Linked DNA regions of Homo sapiens: all the other regions are linked to region 1. The links are contacts of gene promoters, found by promoter capture Hi-C in blood cells and fetal thymus (Javierre and others, 2016). All regions are on one chromosome and are shown on one strand. Each heading gives the region's core, a stretch centred on a gene start or on the middle of the fragment in contact. The rest is flanking DNA. Distances are from core to core; before and after follow the strand shown. Region 1 holds the start of IKZF5 (IKAROS family zinc finger 5). Region 2 holds the start of FANK1 (fibronectin type III and ankyrin repeat domains 1). Region 3 overlaps EDRF1 (erythroid differentiation regulatory factor 1). Region 4 overlaps BCCIP (BRCA2 and CDKN1A interacting protein).

Region 1 (2,893 bases), core at 68-2,567:
TTAACCAACAATTATAAACAGTATTAAACAATAATCACTTACTGTTTTTTATTGCACTTCAGGCCTGTAAAACAGTCAAATAACATTAATTATCTCTAATAAGAAAAAGGGTCAGAGTTCTGCCTCTGGGCATAAGACTGAAGCAGCAGTTGGAAAGCCTAACTCATTAAAGCAAATGCAAAGGAAACATTAAAAGCACACGTAAGCAGTGGGAAAATTCCCAGTGAAGTGTACTGACAAATACAAGTGTATCCAAATGTGTATGTTCTGAAAAGCATGCTATATAATAGGTCCAAGGGGTGAAGAGCATAGGATGTTAACACAGGGGCTGTTAACAGTTTGTGTGGGTGCACAGATAAGAATTAAGCACAACAAGAGGCTGGTTTCAGCTTAAGTTCATGGAAGAGGGACCGGCACCGGCTCCGGCTCCCCTGGGCGGCGGTGAGTCTATCCACGGAAGATACCCAGGCTCCAGACATGAGATAAGGGGCAGAGGGAACTCTGTCCCTGGCCGGGAAGCCCGAACAACTCCGAAGTCCCTTACTACCTTTGAGCGGGGCCGCGGAAGGAAGGACAGGGAGACACCTGCTCAGAATGAGACTGGGCCTATATTTTAACTATCTTTTTTGGGGGAGGGGGTGTGAAATGTAATCACTCGGGAAAGGTGCGTTAGGGCATCAGGGAGGTGACATCTGTGCAAAATGCATCCAGAGATCCAGAGATCCAGACTCGGTGGCTCTCAGGACGCAACGGCCTGCAAAGGACATCTTGCGGACGCGACCCTCCGACTCCACTCAAGGTACTTGCTCCGCCAAAGCAGCTTCTAGACAGCCCCGACCCCCTTGCCACCAGCTGCCTCCACCAGAGGCCTGAAGGGGGTCGGGGTCATAGACTGCCCGCGGGTAAAGAGTCTGGGGACCCAGGACGTGGAGCGGGGCTCAGGCCGGCGCCCCGAGGCCCGTTAGAAGGCTCTGCCAGCTGCGATTCCAGGGGCCAAGGTCGCCCTGGGCCCCCAGGACGCCAGCCTCGAACGCACTCACCAGCCTGCTGCCGCGCAGCAACCGCACTGCCAGGCCCTCCATCCTCGCCGCAGGCCTCTCCGCTCTGCGCCTCTGGGTCTCTAGCCAGCCCCTGGGAGTTACCCGAGCAAGGCCCCGCCCACTCAGTACCCGCCCCGCACACACCCCCCCTTAATCCCTGCCCCCTGCTGCCTACGGAACCCCAAGAGAGACAAACAGGCCCCTCCTCGCTTTCGCCCTCCATCCTGCTCACGCGAGACTTGAGCAAGGCAGGGGGGCGGGAAGGGAGTCGGAGACACAACAAAGATGGCGGCGGCGACTGTGACGGTGACGAAGACGGCGGCGGCGGCGACGGCATTTAACAAGGCGGTGTGGTTTACTCCATGCAGTTGTCAGGAGGTAAGTAGCAGGCTGCCGGCTCGGACGGCGGCGACGCGGCAGGACAGGGCGGATAAGAAGGAGCGGCCGGAGACTGGAGCTGGGTTCGTGGCGGGCCGGCTGATCCGGACGGAGACTCAGTTCAGTGGAGGGTCGGGCGTGGTCGGTAGGCGGGCAGGTGATGGCCCGGGACCTCTTTAGCCGGAGGGCAGTGGACTGCGGCGCCTATGGCCGCGAGAACCCCGAGGGAGCGGGGTCTCCTGCTGTCATTGCCTTCGAGCAGGAGCTCGGAGGCTCCGGGGCGGGGACTGTTGCTTGGCTCTGACAGGTGGTTCTGCGGGAGGCGTCCCGAGGTTTGCGTCTTCACGGGGTCCCAGGGGCTGGGAGTCAGCCGGGCGCGGGTCTCCTAGGTGTTTCGAATCCTGGCGAGGATGTCGCTCCGAATCTTGGTGAGGCTGCTGCCCCGACGCCGGTCCCAGGCTGATTGTTGGGAGAAGGACGTTTAAAGCCTTCGTATTTTATCTAATGATCCTGCCCGGATCCGTCTCTACTGCATGGGCACCCTTATTTTAGGAACATGTGAGATTTGAGAAAGACATTGTAGCAAATAACTATTCAGGTTCATTCGGGGTTTAGATCTTTGGATAAACTGTGTGGAGCGCGAGTAGCCAAGCCTAGCATGCTCGATGACTGGATCTGAAGCTAAACAAGTTCTAGCAAACACTAACCACGTGGCCTGCTTAGAGTCCCCTTGATGTGCTGGTCAGAACCCGAAAGACGTGTGACAAGCGGAAGAAGACATAAAGGCGTCTTAAATTGTGTGATCTGAGGAAATTCAGTTTTGAAAGAACAGAATGTATTTAAAACAACTTTTTTTTAAACGTAGGAACTAACAATTTTAAAAATTCAATTTAATTTTGATTTATGTCGTGTTGTCACAACAGCTAAAGGTTATTATTATTGATGAGAGTTCGTTACAGTGAATTGAAATGTCTGGTGTTATTTTCCCCTAGCGGTCCAGGATGTTTCCCAGAAAACCGTAGCTGTTTTGTGTTATGATAGGATAAGAAGGATGGGATTCAGATGTGCCCTTATCGGGTGTGCATGTTTTTTTTGTTTTTGTATTTAAAGCCCTTTCCCATTTCCCTACTTAGGACTATGCGTTGTTTTTATGCAACTACAGCTGTTCAGCAGTACTAAGCTTGACCGTTTTGGAAGTGTGCTGTGACTAAATGAAGTTAATCTTAATTTCTTTAAACTGAAGTTTAACTTAAATTTAGACATTAAAAATCTTGCCAAAAACTAATCCACCAGTGAGAAAACGGTAGTCACACCAGTTATTCTTTGGTGATCCTATGGAGCTTTTGCTGAAGTGAAGCTACTGCTTTGTTCTTTGATTAATCTGTCAGTTCGTTTTCTTTTCAGCTAATGTAATGATAAGATTGGCATAAGTTACTAGCTCATTCAACCTGTAGATGCTAATTAAGTTTTTATCT
Region 2 (2,886 bases), core at 343-2,842, 2.9 Mb before region 1:
GAGTGCAGCGGTGCAATCTGGCCTCACTGCAACCTCCGCCTCCCGGGTTCAAGCGATTCCCCTGCCTCGGCCTCAGCGTCCCAAATAGCTAGGACTCCAGGCACGCGCCACCACACCTGGCTTTTTTTTTTTTTTTTTTTTTTTTTTTTTTTTTTTTGTATTTTAGTAGAGATGGGTTTCACTATGCTGGCCAAGATGGTCTCAATCTCCTGACCTCGTGATCCGCCTGCCTCAGCCTCCCAAAGTGCTGGGATTACAGGCGTGAGCCACCGGGCCAGGCCAAGTTGCTGTTTTTAAAAGGTATATTTCAACTCACTTCTCTAAGGCGGGAATATACACAGCCTGCCATCAGTTTGACATAAAACAAAAATTTTAGCGTTCTTGTATGCTAAATTTCTTTTACTAGGTTAAAAAAATGTAGAATCCAAAGAGCTGTAAATGCAAATGACAAATACTGTACAAAATCTATCAAGCAACTATAAGTCACAACTTGCAAGCTTTCTCCTCAGCAAATGAGTTAAAAGGAAAAGTATTTGAAACTTTCTTGGTGGAAAACGAATGACCTTTAAAAATGCCAACATTTTCCCCAGAGAATAGATTTGGTCTGAGTTCTTCATTTCTGAAATTGTACAAGATAAGACGACTTGGTTTGAGAGTCAAACTGCATCCTTCTATAAAGGTTTTAGATAAATTTTAAGTCTCCATACAAAACACTCCCCTTATTTTGAGAACAAAAGGAACAATAAGACAGCTTAGGCGGGGCAGAGAAAGAAAGGCCTTGAAACAAAGTCCCTGGAAAGGTAAAAACAACAACAAAAATAGTAAGTTAGAGCTCGTGTTTAGATCTGATAACTCAAAACTGCACAACTTTTGCCATACATCGAAAGCAACATGGGAAAACAGAAAAAGAGATTACAAACATTTTTTGAGTGTCCTAACTTGTAGAACCCCTAAGAATGAATCAAATACACTTGGACAAAGCTCTTCTTTTCTCTCTCTCTCCTTCAAGTCGCAGACTAGGGGTGTGGGGCGGGGGGCGGGGAGTAAGACGGGGTCTCTAATAAATACAAGACCCAGCCTCGGACGTGTTTAATTGCTGACATTTTAGAAGAAAAATGGGCTACTTACAATTAATGAACCAAACTACCAAACTAAAATCATGAGTAGGAGGAGGAGTAAATGGAACCGTCCGGGCGAAGTTTCAGGAAGACGCACGCTGGGGTCGCTGCGCCCTTCCCCACCCATACCTCGGGGCTCTCCAGTCGCTCCCAGCCCCCAGCGCGGACTCTAGGGCGCCGGCGGCCCAACCATACAGACTTGGCAGGATGTAGCCCCCTTCTCCCCTCTCCAGGAGAGAAAAGCGCGAGGAGACGCAAACCGTATTTCCGTGTCCGAGCGTTGAAACCTGCGGAGTCGCGCGCGGGGCGCCCACACTCGTTCCCGGGGAGCCCCAGCCCGGTCGCCCGCCCCGGTCCCAGCTCCAGCCCGGGCCTCCCTTACTCTGGGGCTCCATGGTCGGCTGCTCCCCGGCCTCCGCGGGCGAACCCCCGGACTCCTAACGCCTCTCAGCCAGGGCCGGCGTCGCTACGGTTGCCCTGACAACCCGGAGGCGAAGTGGGCAGAACTAAAGGGACGGCGAGCGGGAGGGACCAAAAGCCGCAGGAAGTGAGGGAGCGCGTGAGGACCCGCGCGTCGCCGGGGACACTGAGCGAGGGTAGCGGCCAGGTCACCGGCTGAGGACACTGCTCCTGAAGCCCGGTCAGGCGGTCGCGCCCTCCCTGGCGGCCCCCGCGGCCCCGCAGGACCTGTGCCCCGACGTCGCCGACCCGCGGTCCCCGCTGTCGCCGACCCGCGGCGTCCGTCGGGCGAGTGGGCCTGCCCGCGGGTAAGGCGCCGGCCCTGGGCCGCCCTCCCGGGAATCGGGAGCCGCCGCTGCAGGTAACAGCGGGGCCCCGGCGGCGGAAGGGGTCGGGGGTCGGCGCAGGGGCGGGCGCGCCCCGAGCCGGGTGGGCGGCCCCGGCGCACCTGTTGTAGCCGCCTGGGGGTCCCCTGCCCGCAGTTGGCCGTGGACGTTCCCCGCCCCGACTCCGAAACGCCGAGGGCGGCCTCCGCGCCTCCTGCTCCGGGAGCCGCGCCTCAGCGGGAGGACGGAGCCCTGCGGGCAGCCCTCGCACCAGGGGCTCCCTCCGAGCCCGGGCATGGGCCGGGCCTGGGGCGGTCCCTCGAGCCCCCCTGACGGGAAGCGTGGAGCAATGCGAGCCGCCGCCGTCGTCGCTGTCGTCCCCAGTGAGCCTGGCGCGTCTCCTGAATCGCGAGAGCCAGGAGCACGGTTTTGCCCGGCTTTGCCCCGTCATCCCCGTGTCCCATTTCAGGCAGGGGGCCCGGGTTGGATCTTTCTCGCTGGCTTCGTTTTTTGTGTGTTGATTTGTTTCAGTCCTTCGCGTTTCCGGTTGAGTTACGGAATCTGCCCACACGTTTTGTGGCCAAACTTTGTAGGGCTGTGAAACAATGTAACATTATCCCACACAATAGTCTTTCATACTGGTTTTAAAACACAGTGATTCAGGGTTTGCTTTAAGGAAGCTTTGAGGATCACAAGAGATTATTATCTGGTAGGTTGTAAAAATTCAAACAACCAGGAGAGTATCATAGGTTCCGGAACACCAGAAGGAGGAAAGAAAAATGGAGACGAGAGAAAAAGGATAAGCAAGAAAGTGCAGGGGCATTAAGGGTGTGGGGGGCTGCAGGATTGATTTGGTATTCAGGTCTGGAGATTATGGCCCCTCTATTAATTCCAACCGCTGCTCCAGACAGTACTTGAGGGAAATGGAAGGAAGAGCCGTTTTGGGGGTCATGGAAGTGATTACTAATCTTGCCAGTAGAAAG
Region 3 (3,139 bases), core at 579-3,078, 2.7 Mb before region 1:
ATGCTTCAATTTATTTCTCTAATGGCTGCAACTTCAAAATGCTCACTAGACATTTTTATACTTTCCTCAAACTGAACATGTGACAAAAACATATTACCTTCCCTGTCTAAACCAATTCAACATCCTTATCTCACTAAATGGCACCACCATTATTCTAGTCCCTAAACCCTGGAATCTCCTTTGACTCCTGTTCCCCTCCGCCTTGCTAACGCTTTATCTGCCTCTCTCTTTTCTCTTGCTCCCCACTCCCACCCCAGCCTCTCACTAAATGTTGCCATTTAGGGAGATGGTCTAACAGTGGTTTTCAATCAAGACTGCAAACCAGAATCATACAGCAGACTTTCAGAAAAGACAGAAGTACACATCCTACTGATACTAGAACACTGGGGGCCCAAGCAAGTGCATTTTTTCAGAGACCACAAGTGATTCTGATGCACAACCAGGTTAAGAATCACTGGGTTGGAATATAACGGTTCAAAGCATGTCCTCAGCCAGAGAGAGGCACAAAGACTGGCACCGCCACTCACTACTAAGTTGACCCTGGGCAACTCACTTGAGCTCCTTGATCCTCAGTCTCTCTTTCCATCAAATAGGAATAACAGCATGTGAGGTAGCTAAGAAGATCAAATAAGGTAAAGCATTTAAAGCATTCAGCAAAGTGCTTGGATAAAATAAGCACTCAATAAATGCTATCTATTCTTACCATTGTTGATTCTTAATAGTTCCTCTCTAGTGGAAAGTACATTACACTATCTGCAAAATGGTACAATGCCTCTGGTTTTCTTGTCTCTAAGTCCTCCTTTTCTGTCCTATATGCTATCTCTAAATTAATATTCTAACACAACAAATTTCCCCTCCTAGATGCAAAGCCTTCTGATTCCAGATTACCAACTGAACCAAGTCCATACTCCTTAGCTCAACATTTAAGATCTCCATCATTTGACCATGACTTTTCCAACCTTACTTGCAGCTATTCTGCTACATAAATCCTGTGTTCCCTAGCTGGATTTATTATCAATCCTTTCATGTATTTACACTAGACTTTTAAAATCCAGCTCTTATTTTTTGAGATACTAGCTATCATTCAGGACTCAGTTAAGATGTCCCTTCTTCCACAAAGTCTTTCCTCCAGACCTGAATGGAAGTGCTCACCCCCTTCTCTGATGATCTAGATTTCTGTGTGCTACACTTCTAATTCTTATCTGTCTCCTACTGTTCTCTCTGCATATTATTTCCCATTAGATTATCTCTTTCTGAATAACAACCAAGCTTATTCTTTGTTTTCCTTCAACAATTATTTATTGTTTAAATTCTCAATTTTTTTATTTTTTTGAGACAGGGTCTTGCTCTGTCACTCATACTGGAGTGCAGTGGCACGATCATAGCTCACTGCAGCCTCAAACTCCTGGGCTCAAGTGATCCTCCTGCTTCAAGCCCCCAAGTAGCTGGGACTACAGACATGTACCACCATGCCCAACTAAGTGTGTGCGTTGTTTTTCTACAATTAGGGTCTCACTACGTTGCCCAGGTTGGTCTTGAACTCTCGGCTTCAAGTGATCCTGCTGCCTCAGTCTCCTGAGTAGCTTGGGATTACAGGAATAAGCCAACACGCCTAGCTTCCCCCAACACTTATAATGGGGATACGTGTCTTCTAAACAGAATATGCTCAATAAGAATTTGCTATATAAGCTATCCACCATATGCAATTTTTACAAGACCTTTCCCTAAAACTTTGCATGTACTGAGTAGATATTTGCATAACGAAGAAACGCCTCCATTGTGTAGACACTTTCAGTTAATTATTAATGAGAGCTTGGCATTAAAATTAGAGTTCTATGGCTACAAATGCAGGTTTTCATATATTTATGAACTTCCTCCAAATTACCTGTAAAATTATACTTCTATAACATCTACAATTCTGTTATCACCAACTTAAATGTACACTCAAATTCAGTTTATTCACAGCTATCTTCCCTGGCAAAAATGCACCTTAGTACTTCAGGGCCGTAAAGACTTTGGTGAGGAACTCTCTGTACCAATTTGCATTTGAGAGATCAGAAAAATCACACTGTATCTTACCTGTACAATTCCATTTACATGAAAACACATCACAAGCTCTGGCACATTGCATATCAAGTTGTCCAACCAATAGTCAATTCCAGTTAGCACATTAATTGGTTTGTTGTTATCCCTAAAAATATACATTTCTAGTGTTATTTGGTTTAATTAAGATGTTCCTTAATTAATCATCTGAAAGTTATTTCACCATTTAAGTATCTTAAGCTGTCCTCTCTAGATAGAAAATGCCATCTATGCTTTCTTTTCTGATAAGATATGCACATGCAGCTCAGTGGTTGTGCTATATTTAACATCTTTCCAAAAGCTTGCTTGTATTTCTAACTGACATTGGTAAGTTTTCAGTAAGAATAGAAGACAATATAATAGGAAAGGACGGTGAGCCTACTGCCTGCTCCTCACACACAACTTGAAGAAAGACTGAACACCATACAAGACCATGCTTAAGTTGGAATTCACATTGGCTAATATCAACAAATACACGTGGAGCATTAAGAAAAATGCTCACAAGTAGTTAGTAGGAATCTAACTAATTAAATAAACTCTCTTGAATATTCTCACAAGTTGTAGATTCAGACCTAAGACTAGGCCAGTCCAACAAACCTCTGGCTCTATTCAATGAGGTCTAGAATGAAGACTCAGCTATAGGCCTGCCTTTCAGCATCTGCTGACAGTAGCTCCTTCCTTAATGTGGCCATTTCAACTGGCAGGGGAAGGAGGGAGGGGAAAAAACCTAGAGAAAGAGGAAGATGCCCAAATAGATGGAACACTGATTCTTTTTTGAGACGAGTCTTGCTCTTTCGCCTAGGCTGGAGTGCGGTAGCATGATCTTGGCTCACTGCAACCTCAGTCTGATGGAACACTGATTCTAAAGGAAGAATTTAAATACCATAAGCTTGAGGAGGGGTATGATGTTAGTTCACCTGAGACGTAAGCTGACTGCTGGGTATCTGCCTCCTCCAAATATGGGCATGTTGGAGCCGACCAACATATGGATATCTTCAAATGTCCATAGAATATTCCGAACAAAATCATTTTTAAGACCCTGTGATTTAAAATAGGG
Region 4 (2,901 bases), core at 90-2,589, 2.8 Mb before region 1:
AGCTGGTTTACTTTTTATTACAACTCATCAGAGAATCAATAAAAAGAGATGAATCGAAACAAAATAAAATGTCAGTAAATGCCCTCAACATTGAGGCAGCAAAGCCTGAGAATATCCCCACTACACAAGTAGCAAAGATAACAGCTGCAGAGAGACAGCACAAACAGCTCCTGCATCAGTACCAACATCAGGACTGCAAAGCCAGATGATTCCCTAAACCACAGGGAGTAAACAACTTTAACTGGGTACAGACCCAACACCACCACCTTCATATTGAAAAAGGATTACAATAAGATTTCACAAGAGCACTTATCCCTATAGTTAATATCACTGTTTAACATAAAAGACATTTTCACCATGCATTAAATAAAAGTGGTTTTGGCCTAAGAAATAACCATTCAGATGCCATCCAGTGAAACCAACCTTTCTTTCAGTTAAATTTAAAAGGCTTATGAAACCAAAAACCTCATCTTCATCCATATCATCATTGCTGTCTTCTGAAACATCCGTTTGCTATTTTAAAAGAAAAAATATTTAAATGTTATATTTAGTATAATACCAAGAGTATAAAACCAAGTCTTGGGATGTAGGCCTCATTTATCTTTTCACTTTTCAAAAGCAAAACTTTGTTTTACCACCGCCATCTTAGAAAGCATTGTATTTTAAATACTGTCACAGTTTTACCACCATCATCTTGGAAAGCATTGTATCTTAAATACTGTGTGACCTTGTTCATTTCGCTTTACCTCGACTCTGTTCCTCTTTTCAGATTCTGAACAGATTGAAATTTCTTTGTACCAGATTAAGTCATTTTCTTTTATCAGATTCTCAATATAATACAAATCCAGAAGAGATAAACCTCATGAAATAAAGCATTTTCATTTGTTTTCTACACAATTAGGCTGGAGCCAAGCCTTGCTTCTCTGCTGGCCCACAGCATTGTTTCATCTAAAACTCATGAGTTTCCAGAACACTTGTCAGTCTTGACCATTAGTGAAGCTAGGCAATGCTTGAGGGCCACTTACACCTATCACATTAGCAAGAGAGAAGGGGAAAAAAGAGAACCCCCTGCCCTTTGTTCTATGATCCTAGGGACTGGCTCCACCGAACACTATGGGTAGTCCCTTTACTAAGAACAAGAAGTCTCTATCCTCAGGACACCTCAAGTGTCTCTGGAGAATCCCAAGAAGCCACAGTTACAACTGCAGAGCTATTGATGTGATTATCCATTTAAAGAGTGAATCCTGCCATTAGATAATAACCTCTTTCAAGGATAAAAATAACTGCTTCTCCTCCATATCCATTAGGTCTTCTAAGACACGAATCAGCTAGAGATCACATTTATTTGATGAAAGGGCAGGTGGTCTGCTTTTTCCCATTGCCCTAATAAAAGGAATGCCCCATAGGTTTAATTTCTCATTTTCTTTACATTGAGTGCCATAAAGTTACTAATATTGTCAGAAGCCTTGAAAAGTGTACACTGTATTTAGTAACAAGTATGTTGGTGACCCTATCACTCAGTGTCCGAATTTTAGTGGTGTAAAAGTCAGATAAGAGTGTCTGAAGAATGAATAGGAGGACAGGAAGTAGAAACCATGACTTAAGATTACTTTTCAAGAATTTTGGCTCTGAAGGTGATGTACTTAAGAGTGGAACATTAGACTGAATGGAGCTTTTGTTTGTTGTGTTTTTCACAACAGGCTAGGGAACAGGTGCTAGGAACAGGAAAAAGACATCAACAGTGACAGCTACACATATGTAGCACATGTCAGCTGCCAGACACTGTTTTAAGCAGTCAGCAATTCATTTTGTTTACCCATGCACTCTACAAGATCGGTGCTAGTACCATCCTCATTTTCAGAGACAGAAATGGAAACAGATTAAGGTACTGTGGCAGACTGTATCTTTCACAGATGGCCCCAATGGATCTCTCCTTGGACATGCTCTTCTGACAAAGTGACCTAGGTACTTTTCTCATGGAGTGGTGGGATCAATGTGCCCTCCCCCTAGATAGAAATTTCTATCTGTAAAGACTAAGCAAATGGTGGAAATGGCACTATATCACTTCTGCCTGCTTCTTTTGGGCAGCTTGCTCTTGGAAGCAAACCAATGTGTGACGAGGCCCACATGGAGAAGAACTAAGGCCCCTGGTCCAGAGTCCCAGCTAAGCTCCCGACAGACAGCTAGGGCTAACTTGCCAGTCATGTGAGTGAGCCATCTTGAAAGGGAATCCTCCAGCCCCTAGTCAAGCCACCCCAGCTAACATGATGGAGCAGGAGCACAGATGAGTTGTGCCCACTGAGCTCTGTCCAAACTGTAGATCCATTAGCCAAATAAATGACTACTGCTATTTTACGACACTAAGCTATGGGGTGGTTTGTTATACAAACAACAGATAACCCAAAGAACCACCAGATGATAAGCAGCAGACCCAGGGTCTAAACCAGTCCTTATTTTGTTGAGCTCTCTACAACATCTATCTGATAAAGATGACCATCCCCTCCTCCTTCAAATGTTATCTTTCTTGCTGTGTATGACATCACTGCACTATTGTTTCTTCTACTTCTCCTGTCATCCCTTTTAATCTCCTTTGCTGGCTCTGCCACTTATATTACTCATCGAAGTATTCTTGGTATTACTAAGGTGTCTGTCCCTTCCCTCCCTGCGCAATCTCAATCACTTCTACGACCTCAGTAACATTTACGACCAACTCCCAAGTCTCCAGGGCTCCACCTGCTACCCGGTATCTCACAGGTAACTCAAACTCAAAATGTACAAATCCAAATTCACATTCCCCCTCCTAATTTGACCTTCCTCCATGTTTGTTATCCTGTTTGCTCAAGCTAGAAACCTGGAAGTCATCCTTGACTCCTTTTCCTCTCACTTTCAGACCCAATCAGG

The links. Contacts are between HindIII fragments. The CHiCAGO score rates a contact against its expected background, and 5 or more counts as called.
Region 2: the fragment with the promoter of FANK1 here is called in contact with the fragment with the promoter of IKZF5 in region 1 in 1 of 17 cell types (monocytes); the score reaches 7.2 in monocytes.
Region 3: a contact is called between a fragment that was not itself captured here and the fragment with the promoter of IKZF5 in region 1, in 3 of 17 cell types (total CD8 T cells, neutrophils and total CD4 T cells). The highest score is 5.8, in total CD8 T cells.
Region 4: a fragment that was not itself captured here is called in contact with the fragment with the promoter of IKZF5 in region 1 in 4 of 17 cell types (neutrophils, monocytes, total B cells and 1 more); the score reaches 17.5 in neutrophils.

Annotation. Positions count from the first base shown.
Region 1 is chr10:123,007,219-123,010,111 of GRCh38, reverse strand. It overlaps IKZF5 (IKAROS family zinc finger 5), which reads left to right and starts at 1,317. Exons shown (of 5, transcript NM_001372123.1): 1 at 1,317-1,418. It overlaps ACADSB (acyl-CoA dehydrogenase short/branched chain), which reads right to left and starts at 1,106. Exons shown (of 11, transcript NM_001609.4): 1 at 1,041-1,106. The coding sequence starts at 1,082. RefSeq lists enhancers at 1,201-1,530, 1,811-2,040. The HindIII fragment of the contact is 4,856 bases long and covers 1-2,600 here.
Region 2 is chr10:125,895,270-125,898,155 of GRCh38, reverse strand. FANK1 (fibronectin type III and ankyrin repeat domains 1) reads right to left here and starts at 1,592. Exons shown (of 11, transcript NM_145235.5): 1 at 1,501-1,592. The coding sequence starts at 1,513. It also overlaps a transcript of DHX32 not described here. RefSeq lists silencers at 1,022-1,316, 1,408-1,547, 1,708-1,787, 2,008-2,087. The HindIII fragment of the contact is 2,086 bases long and covers 500-2,585 here.
Region 3 is chr10:125,729,340-125,732,478 of GRCh38, reverse strand. EDRF1 (erythroid differentiation regulatory factor 1) reads right to left here. Exons shown (of 25, transcript NM_001202438.2): 8 at 3,000-3,121; 9 at 2,080-2,191. Among named protein-coding and RNA genes, the nearest start is that of EDRF1, 11 kb to the right of the region's middle. The HindIII fragment of the contact is 1,114 bases long and covers 1,272-2,385 here.
Region 4 is chr10:125,828,174-125,831,074 of GRCh38, reverse strand. BCCIP (BRCA2 and CDKN1A interacting protein) reads right to left here. Exons shown (of 7, transcript NM_078468.3): 4 at 424-513. Among named protein-coding and RNA genes, the nearest start is that of BCCIP, 6.1 kb to the right of the region's middle. The HindIII fragment of the contact is 3,325 bases long and covers 1-2,901 here.